Regions from separate parts of the Homo sapiens genome. Here regions 1, 2 and 3 are each linked to region 4. Evidence: promoter capture Hi-C in 16 types of primary human blood cells and fetal thymus (Javierre and others, 2016). All regions are on one chromosome and are shown on one strand. Each heading gives the region's core, a stretch centred on a gene start or on the middle of the fragment in contact. The rest is flanking DNA. Distances are from core to core; before and after follow the strand shown. Region 1 has its middle 19 kb from the start of TSEN2. Region 2 holds the start of TSEN2 (tRNA splicing endonuclease subunit 2). Region 3 overlaps ATG7 (autophagy related 7). Region 4 holds the start of TAMM41 (TAM41 mitochondrial translocator assembly and maintenance homolog).

Region 1 (3,389 bases), core at 151-2,650, 620 kb after region 4:
TCTAGGCTGCCCACCTCCCGAAGCATTTTGTGGCTATAAGGGGAACTGGGTTGTCAACCGGACTTAGGACACTGAGTTGTGAGAGATTTGTGAATCAAGGAGGTGGTGCCTGGATTACTGTGGCCACTGCAATCTCAGCTGAGCACTGGCCATTTTCCCATCCTGGAATCAGAGTGATATGTGGTATCCTGGAATCTGCCCTGAAAGGGGAGTAAGGTCAATGTCTACTTTCTGCTTGCTGGGGATTGAGCTGAGTGGCACTGGGAAGAGGTCATCAGTGGTGCAACAGGTGGATTCTAGCTTCCTTTGGAAGTGCTGCCAGCCAACTTCCAATCCCAGGTCCCTGGCACAGTGCTGGCACATCACAGGTCCATGGGCCATGCCTGGCACTGACTAAGGGCCTCACATAATTGTACCCAGCTTTTCTGTCTCTATCCATTCTGCTTGTGGTGGCCAAGATATTTTCTCAAGAACATACTCTGATCAGGTCACTCCCCTGCTCCAAATGCTTCAATGGGTTGGGCCCAAACTCCTTAGCTTGGCCCTTAAGGTTCCTTGGGGTTTGGCCTCTACTGAGTTCACCAAGTTTCCTCCCACTATTTCTGTCTTCCACACCATGCTCCAGATCATTCAAGGACCCACATCTTCCTGTACCTGCCATGGTTTTACATTTTGGTGCCTCACACATGCTCTTCTGACTTGTAGATTGTTCCTTCTGTTGTCTTCCAGTGTACTTCTATTCATCCTTCAAGGCCCAACTCAAATGTCCCTTTTTCTGTAAAGAAAACCCTAAACCATCCTCCAAAGGGTTGCTTTCTCCTATGGGCTTCATAGTGCCCTGTCTACCTCTCTGTCATAACAGCTAACTTTTTGTATTTGTAGTAGAGATGGAGTTTTATCATGTTACCCAGGCTGGTCTCAAATTCCTGGGTTCAAGTGATCCACCTGCCTTGGCATCCCAAAGTGTTGGGATTACAGGCGTGAGCCACGGGGCCCGGCCTGTTTACTTCTTTCTATATCTGCCTCCTGCTCTGGACCACAAGCTTGATAGGCTAGGAATTGTGCCTGCTTTCTCAGAAGTCCCCACTGCTCAGCCCGGGGCATCTCAGCTTCCTGGCCTGGAGAAAGGGCAGGAGGGTGTGTCTGTGCACCAAGCACTGGCTGACCTCTTCTGACTTGTCTTTACCTGCAGGATGGGCAATGACAAAATCTCTTCCATTTTTTCTTTAAAATCTTCTTTAGTACCAAACATTCTTTGGCAGCCACAATCTCCTTCAAAACCCAGGCAAGGCATGCAGAGCTGGGGAAATTGCTGCAGGCAGGGAGCCCATGTCTTGGTGTCTCTCCTACATCTGTAGAGCTCCCTTGGCCGCTGCCTGCTTATCTGTAAAGTGGGAAAGTAACTAACCTTCCAAGATTAGACCAGATCATGCCTGTCAAAGAGCCATAGAAACTGGAAGACACTGGCCTCTGTGATTTCTCTGTCTCTGGTGTTTGCCTTCAGTCCATTTCTGAGTATTTTACTATAAGCATTTAAAACATCCTCAGCACGTTTAAGAAATCGCTGTCCTCAAAATGATGCCTGTGTGAGTTTTTGCTGTTGAAGGAATCTCTGATGGTGCCCGCATTTAAAACGTCCTCACCACATTAGGAAATTACCCCCTCCAAAGTGGTGACTATGTAAGTTGCTGTTAAAGGAATTTCTGATGGTGCCCGCATTTACAACCAAGTGCCTTCAAGGGAGCCGACTTTGCCTTCAAGCTTCAATAACTTGTTTTTTTCCTTTCTTTCTTTTTTTTTTTTTTTTTTGAGACAAGGTTTTGTTCTGTCGCCCAGGCTGGACTGCAGTGGCACCATCACGGCTCACTGTAGCCTCAACCCCCCAGGGCTCAAGTGATCCTCCCACTTCATCCTCCCGAGTAGCTGGAACTACAGGCTCACGCCACCACGCCCGGCTAATTTTTGTGTTTTTTTGTAGACGGAGTTTCGCCATAGTAACGTGTTTTTCTACCAAATAGACTCTAAAAGTGACTGGTGCACTAACGCCAGCTGATGCATGCCTGCATTTTTTAAAGTTTTTAATGGGTAACTGTTTAATTCTTCCCAGGGAGATATTTTCTAGGCGATAGAGATATTTTGTAAATAATATACTTTCTTAGCGTTAGAGGGAAAGCAAGGAATGAAAAGTCAAAGCACCAAAAGTAAAACTATTTTGCCCTAAGTCAGGTCTAGGGATGGGAAACAGGATTCATTTTAACTCTAAGGAGTGAACATAGGGATCTCTGGGACATCTGTCTGTCAGGCAGAGTCGTCTGGAACACTTCCTAGAGATCTTGACCTGTCGCCATAAGTAGGGGAGGCTAATTAAAGGAAATAAAAGACTAGTAGCCAGGAGATTCCAACGTGCTGAAAAAACAAAGGCAGCCAACCTCCAAACTGCTAAGTAAGCTCCCTGCTCTGGCCCTGCCCAGCTTCCCCTTGCAGCCATCCAGATGCTCTTTGCTTTGCCTTAATTTCCACTACCTACACTTACTCTTCTCTGTTTACCCTGAGGGATTAGCAGAGACGGCCCTTGAAACTGAGGCTAATTCTGCACCTGAGGCTCCCGGACCCCAACTGTGGGTCCCTCCAGGGCTGGCACTATCTATTCCTTGTCCTGTGTCCAATGCAGGGCCCACTAGCAGGGTGTAGTGGTTCAGAGTGTAGACAGGGAAATGCAGCAAGGAAATGCAAATGAAAACTGCTAGACACCACTGTACCTCCAACAGAAAGACTAAAATGAAAAAGACTGACCATTGGCTGGGCGTGGTGGCTCATGGCTGTAATCCCAGCACTTTGGGAAGCCGAGGCAGGCAGATCACCTGAGGTCAGGAGTTCGAGACCAGCCTGGCCAACATGGCAAAACCCTGTCTCTACTAAAAATACAAAACTTAGCCAGGCATGATGGCCCATGCTTGTAATCCCAGCTATTCGGGAGGCTGAGGCAGGAGAATTGCTTGGACCTGGGAGGTGGAGGTTGCAGTGGCCAAGATAGCACCACTACACTCCAGCCTGGGCCAACAGAGCAAGACTCTGTCTCAAAAAAATATAAAAATAAAAATACTGACCATAGCAAGCATTGGTGAGGGTGTGGAGCAACTAGAACTTTCATTCCCTGCTGATGGGAATGCACAATGGTACAGGCACTTAAGAAAACACTTCTGTGGTTGATTATAAAGTTAAATATGCACTTTACCATATGACCTAGCAATTCTACTCATAGGTATTTTCAAAAGTGAAATGAGAACATACAGCCACACAAAGACTTGCACATAAATGTTCATAGCAGCATTATTCATGATAGCCCAAAAGTGAAAACAACCCAAATGTCCATCAACTGATGAATGGAT
Region 2 (3,173 bases), core at 385-2,884, 640 kb after region 4:
TATTACAGCCTCTCTTCAGCTGTCTCTCCCCTGCCCAATCCATCCTGTTACCATATCCTGTGACTCTTGCCAATTTTCTCCCTTTCTTTTGCAACATTCTTACCACAAAGCTCTTTGATTTTGGTTTATCTAAAACCTGAACTCCCTAGCCTAGCAGTGAAGGTCCTTGCAGCAGAGGACCCACTGAATGCTGCGACATGATCTCACTCTACCAAGAGCAAGCCCACAGTGCAGTTCAAAAAGGGCCAGGCAGGATGCAGTGGCTCAAGCCTGTAATCCCAGCACTTTGGGAGGCCGAGGCGGGAGGATCGCTTGAGGTCAGGAGTTTGAGACCAGCCTGGCCAACGTGGTGAAACCCCGTTTCTACTAAAAATATAACAATCAGCCGGGCGTGGTGGCAGGCGCCTGTAATCCGAGCTACTCGGGAGGCTGAGGCAGGAGAATCACCTGAACCTGGGAGGCAGAGATTGCAGTGAGGTAAGTGAGCTGAGATGGTGCCACTGCATTCCAGCCTGGGCGACAGAGCCAGGCTCCGTCTCAAAAAATAAAAAGGGCCAGAAAAACAGGGACAACACATGCCATGCCAGACTACTGCAGAGCACAGAGGCAAGTCACCCAAGCAGGTCTGGGAAGGCAAGAAGTCTCCTGGAAGAGGTGATATTTGAGCTGAGACCTAAAGGCTGACCAGGAATTACTGCAGCTAACAGAGGGGAGGGAACATAGAGGCAACAGCATGCGTGAAGGAATGGAGGCAAGAACATTGGCAGAAGTCCAAAATTCAACATCCATCATCACATCTAGCACCATGAATCTCTCCAGCAGTATTTGCCACACTTCCTTGCCATCCTCCTTTGCCTCCTGCTTAGTCTGTGTGGTGGAACTCCTGTGATTCATATTTGGGAAAGTATATATTGGACTCCCCACAGGGCTCCTTTAAAATAACCAGGTCAGGAGAAACTTACACTTCCTATTGCACTCCAGTTTTGCTCATCTCCCGTAATTCTGATGGCCCATTTTTCAGTAAACTCAAGCTCAGAAAGGTTGTCAGTCATTCAAGCTCACGCAGCCAGTGAGGGGGGAAAATGGGGATGCAGAGCAGGTGGACCTGCCGCCTATTGTCCCTTAACTGCACAGGCAGTCTGGGCACACAGAGGCTTCTGGCCAGGTGTCTGCCAGAGAAAACGTCCTTGCAAGTTCCCCGCATGCTGCAGCGTACACAGGTGCGCTGCTGTGATCCTCTTTCTACATTGAGAAAGATGAGATCAGTTTCCTCAGGGCCATTTAATAAAGTCCTGTCGGTCGCCTCAAACATCCCATCCACCGAGGGCCGAAGATTCTAGGTCTCTCCCACCTCCCACGTGACTATGTGACATTTGACGGGTAACTGCATCTCATCTGTAAAATGCGTCTTGCAGGATCGTTCTGGCTTCCGTACAATCCTGCAGAGAGCAGCAAAGCGCGCACGCAGCCTCCGCCTCATACTCCGCAGTGGCAGAGCTGGCGCACAGAACACCCGCCAGCCGGCCGTGCGCAGGCGCACTCCGCCAAGTCCCGACGGGAGCTCTGCGGCTGCGCACTCGGCTGGCTTTGCGGCCGCACTGCTTGACGGCAGCGGTGTCCGCCCCACGGCCGGCGTTGCCGGGGTAACGGCGAGCGCGTGGGGCCAAGAAAGGTAAGGGCCCTGGGCGAGGAAAGCGCGGCCCTTTCCGAGTTTGGTGTTTTGCAGCGAAAGGAAATCTCGCTCTTCCGAAAGTCCTCCAGGGCGAGAGAGGAAAGGGCCTAGGTACTGTGCTGGGGTCGCACAGCCGGCCGAGACAGTGCCGGGACGGGGAGCCAGGCTTCCGAGTGCGCCCGGTCACTGACTCCTCCGCGCTTTCCTCGTGCGCCTGCAGCCCTTGGTTCTTGGAAACGCCGGCGCCTTGTTCAGGGCTGGTGGGGCTGGGGCGCAAGGTGCAGCTGACAATGCCCGAGAGGAGCCGCAGCCTCTGGTGGAGTTCGGTCGGGTGTGGGGGTAGTCAAGGAAAGAAGCAAAGGGGTAAGACAGGGAGTTAGGAATTGGCGGGGCCCCTAACGCTGTTGGGGTGCGCAGTTTATTTTATTTGCAGCTGTCGTCTGGTGAGCGCTTTCCACGTGGTAGGCCCCGAACGAAACGCCTTCTGCAAAATTATGCATTTAATCCTGACAACAACTTTCAAAGGCTGGTCATCTGTTTATATGGCTTATTCTCAGGTTCTAACTTGAAAGCTCCCCAGAGGCAGGATTGTTTACCTTGTGCCTTTCATCCTTGCCTCCCTAAGCCCAGGAGGTGCGCAGATGGAGCTTGAAGCGTGTTTTGGTTGGGAGAAGGTGAGATTTGCTGGGTAGGAGGTTTTTTAACCAGGTTTGTTTGGCACCTAGTCCAGGAAGGTTGGAAAATTAAATGGAGCCACCTCTCCCTTTTTTGTTTTTCTAATAGACATTTACCATCACCTAAGAGGTGTTAGCCTGTGTGCTCGAGGGAAGAATAAGAAACAGACTCTGCTTTTAATAGAAAGTAAGAATATGCAGCTCTGGAGTCAGGTTGCGCAGGTTGGGGAAATAAGAAGTAAAGATTTCTCAGGGGTGCGCCCGGCCCCTCCGAGTCACTTTCCACATCTGTACAATGGAAATAAAAATAGTCTTTACCTCCGGGGGCTACTGGGATTAAGTGAATTTGAATAGACCTTGCTGTTACCAGTGGTTAGCTATATGTTAAAATCAGCTGGGTCCACCCAGGAAATTCTGATGTAATTGATTGCAGGTGAGGCCTGGGCATGAGGAGTTAAGGGTAGGTAAGCTTGAGGGCCACTGTGTGATGTACCACTCCCAGGTTTAATTTTCTTAATCTGCATTTTTCAATCATCATTCTAAATAACCTGCAGTGACTCCAATTCCAAACCAACCTTTGCATCCCAAACCTCTTGACAACTGACCCAGTCTTTCCTATATGTTTTTGTGCACCTCAGGCACCGCTCTTCTTTCATATCTGTGGAATGAGGATAGTACAGTCAGCTCTCGCTATCAGGTTCCGAATCTGTGGATTCAACCAATGTTGCATCAAAAATATTTGGAAAAAGAAATTTAAAAATATATATATATAACAATTATTTAGTATTTACATTGTATTAGGTATTCTAAGTAATCTAGAGAAGACT
Region 3 (3,534 bases), core at 906-3,405, 520 kb before region 4:
TATTTTGGGATAATTTTAGATTTACAGAAGATAGTGGCAAAGACAGTACAGAGAATTCCCATGTACCTTCACCCAGTTTCAGTTTTTTCTAATGTTGTCACATTATATCACCACGGTTCATTTGTCAAAACTAAGAAGCCAGAATTCTTACATTACTATTAACTCAGCTCTAGACATTTCCGATTTCACCAGTTTTTTCCTGCAATACTCTCTGTTCAGGATCCAGTCCAGGATACTACATTGCAATTCGTTGTCATGTCTCCTCCTTAGTTTCCTCTGATCTGTAATTGCTTCTCAGGCTTTCTTTGATTTTTTTTGATGACCTTGACATTTTTGAGGAGTACTGATTAGTTATTTTTATAGAATGTCCCTTAATTTGCATTTGTCTGATGTTTTCTTGTGATTAGACTGGGGTTATGGGTTTTTGGAAAAAATACCACTGAGTGAAGTACCCTTATCACCTGATATCCACATGACATCCTTGGTAATGTTAAATTGATTGCTTGCTTAAGGTAATATTTGCCAGGTTTCTCCACTGTAAAAATACTATTTTTTCTTTGAAAGTAAATCAGTAATTCCAGCTACCTTTAAGGAGGGGAAGGTTTAAATTTTGCTTCTGAAGAGGCCAGTATTTGCTTATATAGTTTGGAAATTTTCTTTAAGGAAGACTTGTCCCTTCACATTTATTCCATTCTTTATTTATATCAGTGTGGACTCGTAGATACTTATTTTATACTTTGGGTTATAATTCAACATCATATTATTTATATTGTTGCACAAATTGTTCCAGCCTTGGCTATTGATAACTCTTACAGTTGGTGCCTGTATCACCTTGGCATGCCCCAATTCATTTGTTTTTTGAGTACCTCCTTCTTTCCTGATATTATAAGATGCTCCAAGCTTCTCTTGTATTTTCCCTGCCTGAGCCCTAGAATTAACCATGTGTCCAAGGAGCCCCGATTTATTTTCTTGGAGAATGGTATTTAGAAGTCAGTATCTGGGTGCTGGGTGCTCATTGTCTTTGAAAGGAAGGAGACAGAAAATGAAAAATGTTATATACAAGGTTCAAAGAGCTGTGAAAGCAGCAAGGACAGGCCAACTACTTCTGCCAGCAGAAGTCTTCACTGAAGAAACGGTATTTTAAATTGAGTAGAGTTTTCCAGATGAAGATCGGGATTGGAGTGGGATGGGAAAGGGGAGGGAGGAAATATATGTTAGCAAAATCAAGAGTAACTGGCTGTTTAACTTGATCTGACTGTACACTTACATTGGTAGTGGCCCTTCTTTGATTTTCTCATTGCATAAAAATGAGCAATTTTCACAGATTATATTTCTTTGTTTACAAGAGGATTTTCTCTACAAACTCTCTTGACTGTCCTCCTTCATTCCCCATCTTCCTTCCAGTCTTTTTTCCTTCTACGTGTATTTAGCTCCTACTTTCTGCCAGGCACAATGCAAGGCACAGGGGGTGCAGACAAGAATTTGATAGCCCCTGCTATCAAGAAGTTCTGTAGTGCAGTGTGAGATCCTGTGGCTTTCTTCTCCTCCCCTTAGCCCTTTACCAGATGTTTAATTTTTAAGGCTTTGCAGAAAGCATAAAAAAGCAAAGAGGAAGTATGAGCAATGTCTGTATTGTGAAGCTGACATGATACTCGACTTACTCAGAAAGTCTTTTTTGTTCACAGATAACAATTGGTGTATATGATCCCTGTAACTTAGCCCAGTACCCTGGATGGCCTTTGAGGAATTTTTTGGTCCTAGCAGCCCACAGATGGTATTTACAAGAGTGTGTGTTTGTCTGTCTGTCTGCCTTTGCCAGTATATGTTTTACAATGTGTCTGTTTCTATTTGTATCTCTGTTTTCCTAAATGCATTATTTTTTCATTTTGGGCATGGAAACCAGGTAATCAATAAATCAGTCATAACCCAATTTCCATACTAGTGAACCTTAAGCAGGTCTGTTAGGGACCTGCATACTCTGATCATTCTGTGCTAAAGATGTTTTAGTGTATGGTAGAGTTGGTAGCCAGAGGTCCTGACACAAATTCTGTAGCCCTCCCTTCTAGCTGTCTGGGTTTCTTTCAGATAGGATTTTCCTACTGCTGTCATTCTCCATTTTTCTTAACCCTAAAATAATTAAAACAGAGGATATCTTAAAAGCCAATATACATTTGAAAAGATGCCCAACATCATGTCATTAAGGAAATAAAAATTAAAACCATAATGAGATGCTACTACATATCCACCAAAAGTATTTAATAAAAATGTCTGTACCAAGTGTTGTCGAAGATGTGGAGCAAATACTGCTGGAAAAATGTTGGGCAGTATCTACCAAAATTAAAAATATCTATGGCTCAGCAATGTTACTCTCAAGTATATTACTCACTGAAATACCTACATAGATAGAAGCAAAACACATATACAAGAATGTTTACAGAAGCATTATTCTCAATAACCAAAAGCTGGGAATAGTTCACACGTTCTTCAATAATGAAATGAATAATAAATTTAAGTATATCCCTTATGATGAAATGTCATATACAATGAATCTGAGTGAACTATTAATACAGAGATCAGCATGGCTGAATTTTAAAAACATAATATTAAGTGAAATAAGTTGGACCTAAAATAATACATACTCCATGATTCCATTTATGTAAAGTTAAAATAGGCAAAACCAATGTATGGACTTAGAGTAGTTGTTACTTTTGAAGGCAGTGGTTAATGACTGAGAGAAGGCATAAGACAGCCTTCTTTATACTTGGGATTTGTGTAATGTGTCTGCTTTACTTAAATAAAAATGTTTATTTAAAAATATGAAGATAGATAAATTATAGATTGTTCTCTGAGGGAGACAATCTACAATTATCCAGGTGGTAAGTCTACACAGTGCAAATGGGCTTCCTAACTACTGACTGAGGTACTGCTGCTTAATATGGAAGTTCAGATGGGGAGAGCAGAGGGAACCAAAAGAACCCACGTCCTAGAGGATTTTTTCTAAATGTCTTGTGAGCATTTTTTCCGCATTTAAAAGATTTACTTGTCGGAATTATTTATGTGCAATATGATTGTAGAAAGAAATCACCTAGAAAGAAATCACAGCCAATTCATTTTTCAGCCTCTAAACACTTGGACAGAGGAGCCATATATGAATATGTTCAAAAGAGTTAAGGCCATCTCCTGTGGGTATCAGAGAGGCATAATTAGAATGCATTGAATTCTCTCCAACTGGTTTGCTGAAGCTCTTATGTGAGCTTTTTCTTTTCCTTCCTTTAAAAAAAAATAATAAATAAATAAAAATCCGGGCATGACAACAGGAGTAGCAGTTTCCAGTCTGTTGAAGTTGTTTGCTTCCGTGACCGTACCATGCAGGGGGCGAGAGACGTTGCCCACAGCATCATCTTCGAAGTGAAGCTTCCAGAAATGGCATTTAGCCCAGGTAATTTGCCGGTCTTTGAAAATGCATATAATTATCATTTATCAGAAACGGAACCAGGTTTACTTTCTTTTCATATCGTCACAATGGCAGAAGAA
Region 4 (3,338 bases), core at 224-2,723:
GGAAAACCTCCATGGAAGAATGAAGAGGTGGCCATCAGGAGGCTAACGCCTGCTCTGTAGAGTGTGACTCTACAGACCACTGGGGACACTTGAGATTTGGTGGCGAGGCAGGTATGGAATAAACATGTTTTTTAAAAATGTGTAATTATGTTAAGGTAAATTCGGGAAAAATAACTAGCCTATAATAACCTATAATTTCTCATATGCTGCCAATTTAAAGAAAAATATTAAATAGTAGTGTAAGTGGGAAACAGAGGAAATCCAAGCAACAGCATAGATGGCCTCACCAGGAAGTGAACAGGCAGGATGTTAATCAGAAGACAGACTACAGTCAGGTATCCAGACGCAGGGGGCCCCATTAAAACCTGCACACTGAATTCTGCAAATTACAAGGAAAACTGTACCCTTACTGAGGCTGTGCTGAGCCAACTCTGAAAAGTAACAATGCCTAGTCTCAAACAGACCGTTGTTAAAAGTGCTGAGCGAGGGTAAATACACTGGTCACGCACTAACTTTTGATGTTAGTTACTTTCACTGCACCTGCCCTGGCCCTACAACCAGTCCGCCAACTTCCTGAAGTCAGAAGATCATTTTGCATTTTCTCCTACATTTATAGAGGTGACTCTCAACAAACTTGGCTGCGCATTAGAATCACCTGGGACGTTTCTTAAATTCCTGAAGCCCAGGCCTCATCCCAAACCAATTAAATCAGAATCTCCATCGGCGGAAGCCGAGCATTAGGATTTTCTTAAAAGCTCCCCAGAAAATTCCGATGTCCAGCCGACTAAAACACTGAAAGAACCTGATAACGATTTCTTTTCCTTTCTTCCATTTGCCCCTGCAGCAGTTTTTCCTTCTGCCTAACTGCTTCTCCTGCTCTAGACCCACGTGGATTCCTAAGTATCCTTCAACACCGTCGCTTCAACTCGCGCTGTCGTTATACTAGGAAGGCAGGCCTATGGTTCACTCTGCTAGTGGACACGTGGAGTGTGCAGAGCGGACAGGCAGCTCTCCGACTCTGAAGGAATCGAGGGCAAAACGGGACTCGTGAGAACAGACAGTTCCCCGTCGTGGGGCTGCCCGGGCTCACCTTCTGGTCTGAACTCGGCCCTGCCTGGCGGTACACCCCGGAGCCGTAGACGAAAGCCAGACTCAGCTCCTCGGGGAAGTGAGACAGGATCTTGCGGAAGGTCACCCACGAGCTCTGCAGCGTCTGCAGCGCCATGGGGTCGAGGCTAACAGGGGACACTCAGCGCAGCAGGGCGAGGACAACCGGGCGGGGAACAGACACCGGGTAGGCGGTTTAGGGTGGGAAATGGAAGTCGGAGACTGGATCGAGGGACACAAGGCTGAGTGTGGGGTGGGACTGCAAGCACACGCAAGGATTGGGGCGTTGGGCCACGAAGAGCAGCGGCGAGAAGACGCAGCCCAGATAGGCTCGGGTGGGCGGCGGTCGCACAGGCAGAGCTTCCGTCCCTTGCTACGCCCCACGCACGCACAGGCGCTTCCAAGACGCAAGAGGCGGTGCTCGCCTTAGTGTGGGGAACGCGAGGCTTTGCATTGTCCCCTCGTGGTCGGAGGAGTGCCCTACAGGCTGGCGGCTAGGTTGCGACTTGGACAAATCGGCGGAGGCGAGCGTCACCCGACTCCGCGGGCCCTGAGCCTTGATAGCCTCTGTACTTCTCTCTTCAAACTACGGTTTAAAGAATGACTATAAAATCGGGAGCGTATTGAAGGTTTTTAAGTGAGGCGACACTCACATAATATGGAACTAGCCGTTCTGAAATGGACAGTGTAGTAGCATGTAGTGCCTTCACAATATTGTGCCCCCATCATCGCTCTAGTTCCAAAATTGCAGATTTCGAAGATTTGGAAAAACACAAAATTAAAATGATGCCCAATCCCGCCATGTAGAGAATACCACCGTCAAGATTTGACGGAGACTTCTTCACGCTAAAGCCCTTTTCAAATACAAGGGTGGATATGGGAGTGCACAGACGTTCTCTGATACTTGCATTTAATTTCAAGGGTGGATCACAGTTTTTGCCCCCTTGCCTTGTGGAATGGTCTCACAAAGGGTGCTTCAAATGCAGTTTCTGGAGGAAACAGGACCCTAGGAGTAGAAAAATCTTACAGCTCTCCTCTTTGTATAACTGGAGAAACTTGCTGAAGATTACCATTCAGGAGGTGGTTTGACTTCCAGGACAGAAACTTTTTCAACTACCCTCTCCTTCCTCCCCAAAATACACTACCTCTCAAAAATAATAGAAATAGTAATAGCTAACATTCAGGTAATGTTGACACATTTTCACATGCACTTCTCACTGAGCACCCTCTAGTGCCCTGTGGCAGGAGGGCCTTGGTTTTACTGATGGCCAAGCTAAGGCTTAGAGAGGTAAAGCCAGGTGATAGGATCACATCAGCCTGTGGCAAAACTAGAGCTAAACCCAGGTCTGGCTCCAACTCTGGGATTTTTTCGGAAATTCTGCTCTGTCCTTGAAGGGTTTTGAGCAAGGACTTATGTAATTCACATGTTAGCCTGAATTGTGGGGGACTGATTAGACAGTTGTTATCATAGTTCCCCCATGAACTGGAAACGGCTAGGCCAAGGTCTTAGGAGCAGGGATGGGATTAAATCAATTGGAAAAATGATTACTTGCACTCACACTCTGGGCCTGCACTGAGATGAAGAGATCTGAGCTGCCTGCTGCCCTGCAGGAGCTAGGGGTCTGTAGAGGAGAGGAGACAGAACTGCAAATCAGAGTAGAATTTGGGTAATGCAGCCAGGTACCCAGCACAGTGCCGGAATGTAATGTCCCTCCAATGGGAACGTCAGTCAGTTCTGGGTGTTGGGGAAAGGGACCAGAAGAGGTTTCACAATGATGGCATTTTGAGCCAGGCCTGGAAGCTGGGTAGGAGTTTATCAGGTAGAAGATAGATGGGAAAATTCAACCAAGAAAGAATTGAAAGGACTCGGTGACAATAATACTAATAATAGGTGTCATTATTAAGCACTTAGTATGCCCAGGCACTTTTTAGACTTCTTTGGGGCTTTTCTGTTTTTGTTTTTTTTTTGAGACCGAGTCTTGCTCTGTTGCCCAGGCTGGAGTGCAGTGGCACGATCTCAGCTCACTGTGACCTCTGCCTCCTGGGTTCAAGCAAGCATGCCTGGCTAATTGTTGTATTTTTAGTAGAGATGGGGTTTCACTGTGTTGGCCAGGCTGGTCTCGAAATCCTGACCTCTAGTGATTTGCCCACCTCAGCCTCCCAAAGTGCTGGAATTACAGGCGTGAGCCACTGCACCCAGGCTTTTTATACTTGTTTCTTTTCATCACTCC

The links. Contacts are between HindIII fragments. The CHiCAGO score rates a contact against its expected background, and 5 or more counts as called.
Region 1: a contact is called between a fragment that was not itself captured here and the fragment with the promoter of TAMM41 in region 4, in 1 of 17 cell types (total CD4 T cells). The highest score is 5.3, in total CD4 T cells.
Region 2: a contact is called between the fragment with the promoter of TSEN2 here and the fragment with the promoter of TAMM41 in region 4, in 2 of 17 cell types (naive CD8 T cells and naive CD4 T cells). The highest score is 8.0, in naive CD8 T cells.
Region 3: a fragment that was not itself captured here is called in contact with the fragment with the promoter of TAMM41 in region 4 in 1 of 17 cell types (total CD4 T cells); the score reaches 5.4 in total CD4 T cells.

Annotation. Positions count from the first base shown.
Region 1 is chr3:12,463,629-12,467,017 of GRCh38, forward strand. No RefSeq gene overlaps it. Among named protein-coding and RNA genes, the nearest start is that of TSEN2, 19 kb to the right of the region's middle. The HindIII fragment of the contact is 718 bases long and covers 1,042-1,759 here.
Region 2 is chr3:12,482,846-12,486,018 of GRCh38, forward strand. TSEN2 (tRNA splicing endonuclease subunit 2) reads left to right here and starts at 1,635. Exons shown (of 12, transcript NM_025265.4): 1 at 1,635-2,035. RefSeq lists an enhancer at 1,559-1,978. The HindIII fragment of the contact is 9,261 bases long and covers 1-2,813 here.
Region 3 is chr3:11,329,655-11,333,188 of GRCh38, forward strand. It overlaps ATG7 (autophagy related 7), which reads left to right. Exons shown (of 21, transcript NM_001349232.2): 10 at 1,686-1,774; 11 at 3,318-3,439. Among named protein-coding and RNA genes, the nearest start is that of ATG7, 59 kb to the left of the region's middle. The HindIII fragment of the contact is 2,514 bases long and covers 899-3,412 here.
Region 4 is chr3:11,845,412-11,848,749 of GRCh38, forward strand. TAMM41 (TAM41 mitochondrial translocator assembly and maintenance homolog) reads right to left here and starts at 1,474. Exons shown (of 8, transcript NM_001284401.2): 1 at 1,091-1,474. The coding sequence starts at 1,225. The HindIII fragment of the contact is 19,949 bases long and covers 1-3,338 here.